2 separate regions of the Homo sapiens genome follow, and region 1 is linked to region 2. The links are contacts of gene promoters, found by promoter capture Hi-C in blood cells and fetal thymus (Javierre and others, 2016). All regions are on one chromosome and are shown on one strand. Each heading gives the region's core, a stretch centred on a gene start or on the middle of the fragment in contact. The rest is flanking DNA. Distances are from core to core; before and after follow the strand shown. Region 1 overlaps LOC105373109 (a long non-coding RNA gene). Region 2 holds the start of WDR26 (WD repeat domain 26).

Region 1 (4,626 bases), core at 225-2,724, 470 kb after region 2:
AATCCAGAATTTTTGTCATGAACTACATCTTCTGATTTATGTATTTGTGGTTTGCAAAGTTGTGGTGGGTGGGAGATTGTTTGGATTTTCTTATTCACAATGCAATGAATGTTTTAATGGGCAAGCAAAGATTGAATCAAAAATATCTAGCAGCTCTGAAAAGCTTCACTCTGAGTACTGCTGCTTGCTGTTCTCATGAGAACAGTTGCTAGGATAAAATACAGCTTTTCTTTGAAGTATTATTACTTTATTCATTCATTATGTCTTTGTAAAATACCTACATCACACAAAGAACTATTGCAATAGGGACTATGGGGTTATAAATATGTGTGTCCTTCAGGGGGCATACATATGTGAAACACCTAGATAAAAATAATGACGGTGGATTGTTCTGATTTTTAAGTAAATTGGAAAGCATGAAAACTGTTTTATTGGGGAAAAAAAGCCTATTGGAAGAAACATCCTAAACAAATAAGAGATGGTTGATTATCCAGAAAAATTCATTTCCTCTCAATTTTATCAGACAAAAGATTATGCATTCCTTAGCCATCAGGGAAATGCAAATCAAAATCACAATGGCATACCACTTTATACCCACTAGGATGGCTGTAATAAAAAGAGAGATAATAACAAAGTGCTGAAGGAATCAGAACCTTCATATACTCCTGGTGGGAAAGTACAACGGTGCAGCTACGTTGGAAAAAGAGTTTGGCAACTCAAAAGATGAAACATAGAGTCAGTTACCATAAGACCCAGCAATTCCACTCCTAGATATCTACCCAAGAGAAATAAAAACATATATCCAGACCATAACTTGTACATGAATGTTCATAACAGCATTATTTGTAATAGCCCCAAAGTAGAAATCACCCAAACATCTATCAACAGATGAAGAGATAAACAAAATGGTATATCCATACAATGTTATGTAATTCACACATGAAAAGAAATGAAGTACTAATACACACTACAACATGGATAAATCTTGAACGTATCAGGCTAAGTAAAGAAGTCAGTTCCATTGACATGAAATGTCCAGAATGGGTAGATCTACAGAAAGTACATTAGTAGTTGCTTCATGGCTGTGGGCTGGGAAGAAATTGAGAATGACTGCTAAATAGTATGGGATTTCTTTCAGGTATGATAAAAATATTTTAATAGTGATTATGGTGATGGTTGTACAATTTGGTGACTATATGAGTACTAAAAACAACCGGCTTGCACACTTTAAATGAATACATTATATGGTATGTGAATTATATCTCAATAAAACTTATTTTTAAAAAGATGACAGATTGTAGCACTATCTTATGTAGTGAACATAAGTAGTGAACAACACTTCTGTCAAGGAACATTACACAAAACTTTAGGGCTTTAAGAAGAATATGCATCTTATTTCATCATTATCATAGTCATATGCACAAAGGAGCACAGTACTAACAGATTTGGTGAAAACAAAGTATATGAGGGAGATTTACATGGAATCAGAGTTGGCTGAACTACATACATATTTCCTGTAAAGTTCTTGTGAGTGTGTCCATCATTTTATTCACGGAGTCAGAATTTTCAGATCATCAATTATCTATCAGATACTATGTTTGGTGCTGGGGAATAAGTAAGCAAATGGAAAAAAGCTATAAGTTTTAAAATATACACTTTGGAGGGCCTAGGTGGGAGGATCGCTTGAAGCCAGGAATTCTAGACCAGCCTGGGCAGCAAAGTGAGACTCTGTCTCTACAAAAAATAAAAAAAACTTAGCCGGGTGTGGTGGCATGCACCTGTGGTCCCAGGTACTTGGAAGGCTGAGGTGGGAGTATAGCTTGAGCCCAGCAGTTGAAGGCTGCAGTGAGCTATGATTGCAATACTGCACTCCACTCTGGGTGACAGAGATACCTTGTCTCATAAATAAATAAATAAATAAATAAATAAATAAATAAATAAAGTCAATGCTATAGCACATGTGAAAGTAAAAGCTACTTGCTCTCAAAGAGAGCTTCCCATTTGAGAAACAAAAACACAGTTGCATGACCCTACTGGTTGAGCACCGGCACTAATCAGGATTATTCAGTAGCAGGTTGCATAAAACAATTTGAGCAATCGTAAGCCAAAGGGTTTTTCTAAGAGCAGGAATGCAGCTGGGTCTCAGGAAAGAATGGAACTGGAAACCAGAAAACCTTCATCACCACCCCTGCCACTGCCCATAGTGTTTTCTTCCTGCCTCTTGGTTCTGTACCTCTCTTCCTGCTGCTGCTCTTTCTCTACAGGCTTCTGCTAATTTATCCACAAGAAAGAGTATGGTCTCTCAGTTTATATGTCCAGCCACAGAGACAATCTATTTTCTTTTTTTCCTCTCTCTCAGCATCTTCAATTTTAAATTCCGTCTATAACCAAAAGCAAATTAAGTGACATTCTTTCCACTGAAACTAACAGAAAGCCCAGGAAAGAGTGGCTTTAGTCTTTGCTACTCCAAGTCTGTGGACGAGCATCATCGGCATCATCCATGGGCTTGCAAGAAAAGCAGAATCTGAGGCACCACTCCAGACCTACAAAATCAGGCTCTCTGCTTTCACAGGACCTCCAAGGGATTTGAATTGAACATTAAAGTTTAAGAGTTGGGTTAATCAATTTAAAATATTTATTATCTCATTTAACAGGAAGGCCCAAGAATGGTGGTTCCAGGCTGGTTGATTCAGAGGCTCAACTGTGTCATCAGGACCAGCGATGACCAACAGCATCCTTCCACTCTGTTGTTTTCCTCTCAGTTCTTAAGAAGGTTGCAGCCTTTCCAAGCTTCCCATCCATGCATAACAACGTCTAGTAGCTGGAGGAAAAGGTATTTATTCTTTGGATTCCTTTTTAAGTGGGAGAAAAATCTTCCCAGTGTCCCCTCAGCAGATTTCCCATCACATATCACTGACCATAGTGTGTCACACAGCTGTTCCTAATGTAACCACTAGTAAAGGAATGGAATCCTCATAACTGACAGACTGATCAAGATTCACCCCCTGGATCTGGGGAAGGGCTTAACTTCCCTAGAAGCAACTGGCCTCCTATTCTCTTAACAGAACTGGGATCTATGAGTAAGGAATAAGGGGAGAATGGGAGTTGGGTAGGCACCCAACAGTGTCTGCCACACCACTCCAGCAATAAGCACCCATGTGTGAAGCATAGTGTAGGAGGTATGAAGCAGAAAGTGCCTACGTGTGAAGCATTAGTAGCAGAAGAGTTGCTATATCAAATGGAGACCGCACAGAAGGGTTCTTTGATCATTTCACACAAATTCCTCAGCAACCCCCATGTTCATATACTTGCCCGGCAGCCTTTGCTTCCTCACTTGAAAGCAATTTCTTCAAAGACAACCAGATTGAAAGCTCATTGCAACTATATTTTGGAGAGCTGGGAGAGGAATGAGTGAAACGCACATGGATATTTTCTGACATGTAGGTTCCCACAATGGGAGGTGGAATGTTTTAGTTACTCCATAACATCTTAATAAGCTGAACATTGGATTGATATATAAAACAATGGAAATTGAAATTTATTTAACATTCATTAGGCACTTGGCAGTATTCTAAACACTGTACATAAATTAGGTAATTTAATCCTCCTAACAACCCTATAAAGTATATACTATTATTATCTCCGATTTATAGAGGAAATGCTGAGGCAGAGAAAAAAATATTACTTGCCCAGTTACATACTGTGTAAGACACAGAGGCAGGAATTGGAAAAATGAGAAGCTGTAGGCAGGCTAACTGGAAGTGGGGCATCCTATGTTATTGCTTAGGGGTGTGTATTTGGATTTCTCTGGCTGGTCCTAATTAGGGAAGCTGTCAACTATTAAGTACTGGTCATTTTGCAGGGGTTGCAGGAGTTATTGTTCGGCTTCCTGGACTGTTTCTTAGAGATGACAGTCTGGATTTAAACCCAGAAGGTCTAATGCCAGGGCTTGTGCTCATAATCTTTGCAGCAAATGAGCATTCAGTGGTTTTTATGCACATCTCCTTCTGAAACTGGAAAAGTCACTGGCTAAAAAGATCTCAGGTACCATTATAAGAATCTGGGATTAACAGCCGAGGAAGATGTCTTTCTCTTAAGCAAATATTAAACCACACAAAAATTCATTGCAAAGTTATAAGCTTAAAGGAGCTTGCTGCCAATTTTATTTTACTTCATCCACCTAACTAGTGGTGTTATAGTTGATTTGTTGAATCAACTCAAGGGAAAGAAATGTGCTTGTTATCTAATAATGCTACCTACCAATTTGAACACTTGATAGCCTCTAAAAGCCTACATTTATATATCCCAATTACTGGATAATAATGTGGGGGAAAATGTATTATAGCTAAAACAGCCAAGGGTTAGTATCCCCAGTTTTTTTCTCTCTTGGCTGCTGGATTTTAGTAGCTACATTTGGATGTGATTTGATAAAATTTGAAGCTAATTTAATCTGTACTCTATATGATAACCATAATTTCATTATTCTTAGGTTGTTTTTGTAAGAAAAAATTTAATAACCTTGTTTTTCAATAAGAATGAAAAACCTTGCTATGTTGACTCAATAAACTCATTAGTTTTTTTTTGTTTCATTTTGTTTTTTGCTTATAGTACTTAGAGTTACCTAAA
Region 2 (4,365 bases), core at 676-3,175:
ATACAAAACGGTGGTTTTTGTCCAAGGTCGCTGTCTACCTTCACCCTATGTTAGGTATACAAGGCCACCTAAATTGTATTTGAAAACAAATGGTTCACCAGATCAGATGTCCCCTTTTCAGAGGCGATCATCTTCTTGGTATTAAACTGAGATTTCAGACTAGTTAGGGTTAGGCCTCTTGTACACACACACAAGGGCCTTTAAACGACATCAACACTGTATCTTCATTATTCGCATCAGATTTATTCAACAACCTCTTTCCAAATGATCCCAGCCCCTCCGTTCCCATAAACACTTGTAGGTGATTGTCTTTCCTGATTGGTAGTTTGCTTGGGTTGTTGTCTGCCACGGTTGGGGGTGGGGAGGTGTCCCACAAAGATGCCTCCAAGATACACTTGAAAAACAAATCCTCCAAGGTTCATTATTTCCACCAGCTCTAATCCACCCCTCCCCCAACACATACAGAAACACACTCCCGCATCTGTCTTTATTGACAGACAATTAAGCTCTGAAGGTGCGTGGGGAGAAGTCATTCTTTGGGTTTCTCCTAACCCTTCCTAACCCCTCAACGCCTGTCTCGTCTCACAATTTGTCAGACTGATTGATTTTCCCCTATTTCCTTTCAGGTCCGCTCCTCCTCCCCGGTCGCCCTGAGCCGCGTCCTCCTGTGTACTGGGTCCTGCGTGCCCAGCACTCATTCTCTTTGACCGAGCTCTTTCAAGCCCCCCTCCCCCCTCCGCCCCTTCCCCTACCCCCCTGGAGCCTCCGTCCCTCGGTCTGTCCATCACCAGCTGGCGGTAAGGGATACTTACTTGAGCCCTAAGCCATTCAAGTGCTGTCCTATTAGCCTAATGACATCCTCATCTGACTGGGAGAGCCGCTTCTTCTTCTTGAGGCTGCTGCCCAGTTCTGGGGTGGCCAAGGAAGAGGAGGCGGCGGTGGTGGCGGAGGCAGCTGCGACGGTGGCTGAGGATGCGGCGGCCGCCCCGCCGGGAACCCCGTTATTGACATTCAGGCTGTTGCTATTGTTGCTGGCGGCGGAGGGGGCGGAAGGCAGGAGCCCATTGGCGTGGGCCAGGTCCCCCGCGGACGACGACGACGAGGGGGACGACTCCCCGTTCTGGGCCGACAAGCAGGCGAGTTCCGGGGTCTGTCCCTGGCCCCCGCCGCCCCCTCCTCCTCCACCGCCGCCGCCGCCACCTCCTCCTCCTCCTCCTGCCCCATTGGCCTGCATGATGCTGCCGCTGACCAGGCTGTGGCCGCTACTTCGGTGGGGGACAGCAGCGGCGGCGGGAGGGGCAGCAGCCGGGGGAAGTCCCACCACTACCACCACGGAGGAGGAGGAGGAGGAGGAGGACGAGGACGACGAGGACGGAGGGGAGAGGCCTGCTCTGCCTGCCGAAGCCCCGGGCTCTCCTACTCCCTCCGCCGCCGAGGCTCGGGGTTTCTTCCGCGGGGGCGGGGAGGCTCCGCCGGTGTCCGAGTCGGAGGAGGAGGAAGCGGAGGCCAGAGTTTCCTCGCCGAGAGAGGCCGTGGTGGGAAGCCGGTGGGGCGAGGCGGGGGAGGGGAGGCGGGGGCCGGGGAGAGGGTCGGGGTGAGGGGGGCCGGGGAGGCGGGGAGGGGGTCAGGGTAGGAGGGTGAGGGTGAGGGTGAGAGGAGGGGGAGGAGGAGGAGGGGGAGAAGGAGGATCCGGGCCCTTTCCCCCCCCCCTCCCGGAGGCAGCTCGGGGTGCGCGGCCCGGGGGTCGCGCCGGGGGGCGCCGCGGGGCGGCTGCGGGGGCGCGGGGCCCGCCGCTGGGCTGAGCCCCGGCAGTGGCTGCGGCGGCGGCGGCGGCGGGCGGCAGCGGAGGCAGCTGCCGCCTCTGTCCTCGGATCCGCTCCGCTCTGCTCCCTGGTGTGTTGATTCTTCCCCCAGCTGCTGCCTAATGGAGTCCAGGCGCTCGCGTCACAGGAAATGCCTATACTGCCCTCCTCACTCACTTCCGGTGGCAGGTATGGAACCTATAGGGGGCCTGTCACCCAGCACGTGCATCGGGGGCTGTCCCGGGGGTCAGGGGAGGGAGGCCAGCGGGCCGGCGGGGTCCGCCCCGACCCCATCCACGACCCCGACTCCTATCCGATCCTATCCCCGGCCCCGCTCGGGCCTTTCCCCTTGCGCCCTGGCTCGGCTGGCTCGACGAGCAGTAAGTTCGTAGCCGCCCTCCGAAGCCGGGCGTGCATGGGATGGCAGAGTTGGCGTGCGTGCGTGAGTCCACCAGTGTGGCATGGGCATGTAAGGTGCGCGGAGGGACTGCACCTTCTCCATCAGGTGCAGAAGGTGAGGATGGGGCAGGGGGCTAGGAGCTTCGACAGGCAGGAACTTCCAGGCACAGGGCTGTGGTAGGCCCCTCTCAATGGTAACCAGGACCGAAATCGGGTTTCACAACCTACTTGTTTTAGGGTGGAAAAACTTGAATTTCCACAGCCAAGTGCCACACAGTTGCTGTACCCGGGGCCATCCCGGGAGCTGTGAGATAATGAGCCGGTGAGACTCTGCTCCACCCTGGGAAGGGGAGTTAGTCTAGAGGAGCATATCTTATGGGGACAAGAAGTCACAAAAAGGCTGTGTGGTGTGTAGAGAAGGGGAGGGACTCTGCTGTTGAGGCTTCACTCTTTTTTAGCACTTGCCCAGCACCTCCTTCTCTCTTCCAGCTGCCTCTTGAGTCACTGCCCAGTTTAGGGAGCAGTAACATAAACCAAACAGTTGCCTCCAAAATATGCATTCTGAGAAGGATTCAGGCACCCATTCAGATCCAGGCTTGAAATTTTTACGTGGCATGTGAGCCTTCTGTGTCATCATGACTTACCAATTTATGTGAATGTAGAAATGCAGCAACAAAGACTGGGCTGAATCTTAATCATTGGCAAATGGTGTGCATTATCCCCAAACAATTATTTTCATGTATGTGGTTGATAGCATCTATACTCAATATGTATAAAGATTTTCTCAGAAATTTAAAGTCTTTCTCTGAAGTAGTTTTCCTGTGGGGAGGGGAAAAAAAACACCTTAGTTTCTAATTAATACATCATACATCGCTGATATTTATTATAGTAATAACTGAAAGTAATTTTGAGGCCTTTGGAGACAGTTGTTTTTAAATTTGGAAATACAATAAAAAATGATGCTGATGAGAAATTAGTAAAGAATCCTGAGGTTTATGGATCCTCAGACAGGAAGAAGTAAGAGGAAGGTCAATGCAGGATCTTACAGGGATTTGGTTTTGTAGTTCTTACTGCTTAAATTTGCTTCCAGGTGGCAGCTGTAATTGCAAGGTGACTCACATACAGTGTTTATATTCACCTGAGGCCGACCTGAGTTCTAGTTGAGGTTCATAGAGCTCTGTCACTGTATCCAGCAGAGCCTGAATTACTAGATAGTTAACACCCTCAGAGAGCCCTGTTTGTATATTAACTTTAGACAACCTTATTATTAAAAGTGTTGTTTAGGCAAAATTTAATTTTTGCAAAATGGTTTATAATAATTTATTAGGCCCATAGCAACATTGAAGACTTGCTTCTGAATAAAGACTGTAGGTTTTATAAAGGAAATCAGTCACTTCATGGCAGCTACAGACAAAGCTCACACTTCATTAACAAAAGTAAAATGATGAAAAATAAATTGGATTCCATTGCTATCTAAACTCTATATTCCAGTTTTTCTAATTTTTAGGTAACCAACACTGCTCGTGTTAGAATTCTGAATTTATAAAGTCCCTTACAGAACATTTTTCTCTGTACTAAAACACAGCTTGAGAATCTGTTATCTGAACTCTGGGTCTTTAGGTCTTTCTAAAGCCAAGTTTCAGGTCTATGTGCAGATGAACAATTCTGAAATACCACTCTACACACTGAGGAACCTTCAGTAACACCACATTACCTACAGAATAAAATCCAAATTCTGTCTTGCTCACCACAGGTTGCTTTCAGTCTTTCTTTTTGGCTTCATCTCTTATTGCTCCTCTTCAGGGACCTGTCTACTGTCCGCCAAATGTACTGGCTCATTTCTCCTTGAGAGTCTTTGACTACACTCTCCCGTCTTTTCTTCACCTGTCTGATGCCAGTCAGTCTTTCAAGACTCAGCTCATTTCAAACCTCCTCAGGGGAGCCTTTCCTGACTTCCACTCTCCTAGCCGTCATTGTGGGTGTCATTTATTAGGCTCCTCAATCACGAAGGCTGCTTGTGATGTAACTTGCTAAGACCCCTTCTTCAGGTCATCAGAGAGAAGGCTTTCTAGACCTCTGTCCCCCTGATTTACCTTCCCCTTTTCACCCTCCTCCTAAAAAGGACTAAGATGGGTTTAGGAACAAAGGTCCAAGTTATCTTTTA

What was found. The method cuts DNA at HindIII sites, captures the fragments that hold promoters and counts their contacts. A CHiCAGO score of 5 or more calls a contact.
Region 1: a contact is called between a fragment that was not itself captured here and the fragment with the promoter of WDR26 in region 2, in 1 of 17 cell types (M2 macrophages). The highest score is 6.2, in M2 macrophages.

What each region holds. Positions count from the first base shown.
Region 1 is chr1:224,898,339-224,902,964 of GRCh38, forward strand. All of the region lies in intron 1 of LOC105373109 (a long non-coding RNA gene), which reads right to left. Among named protein-coding and RNA genes, the nearest start is that of DNAH14, 29 kb to the right of the region's middle. The HindIII fragment of the contact is 2,627 bases long and covers 162-2,788 here.
Region 2 is chr1:224,432,872-224,437,236 of GRCh38, forward strand. It overlaps WDR26 (WD repeat domain 26), which reads right to left and starts at 1,926. Exons shown (of 14, transcript NM_001379403.1): 1 at 813-1,926. The coding sequence starts at 1,534. It also overlaps a transcript of CNIH3 not described here. RefSeq lists a silencer at 1,905-2,304 and an enhancer at 2,645-2,834. The HindIII fragment of the contact is 13,558 bases long and covers 1-4,365 here.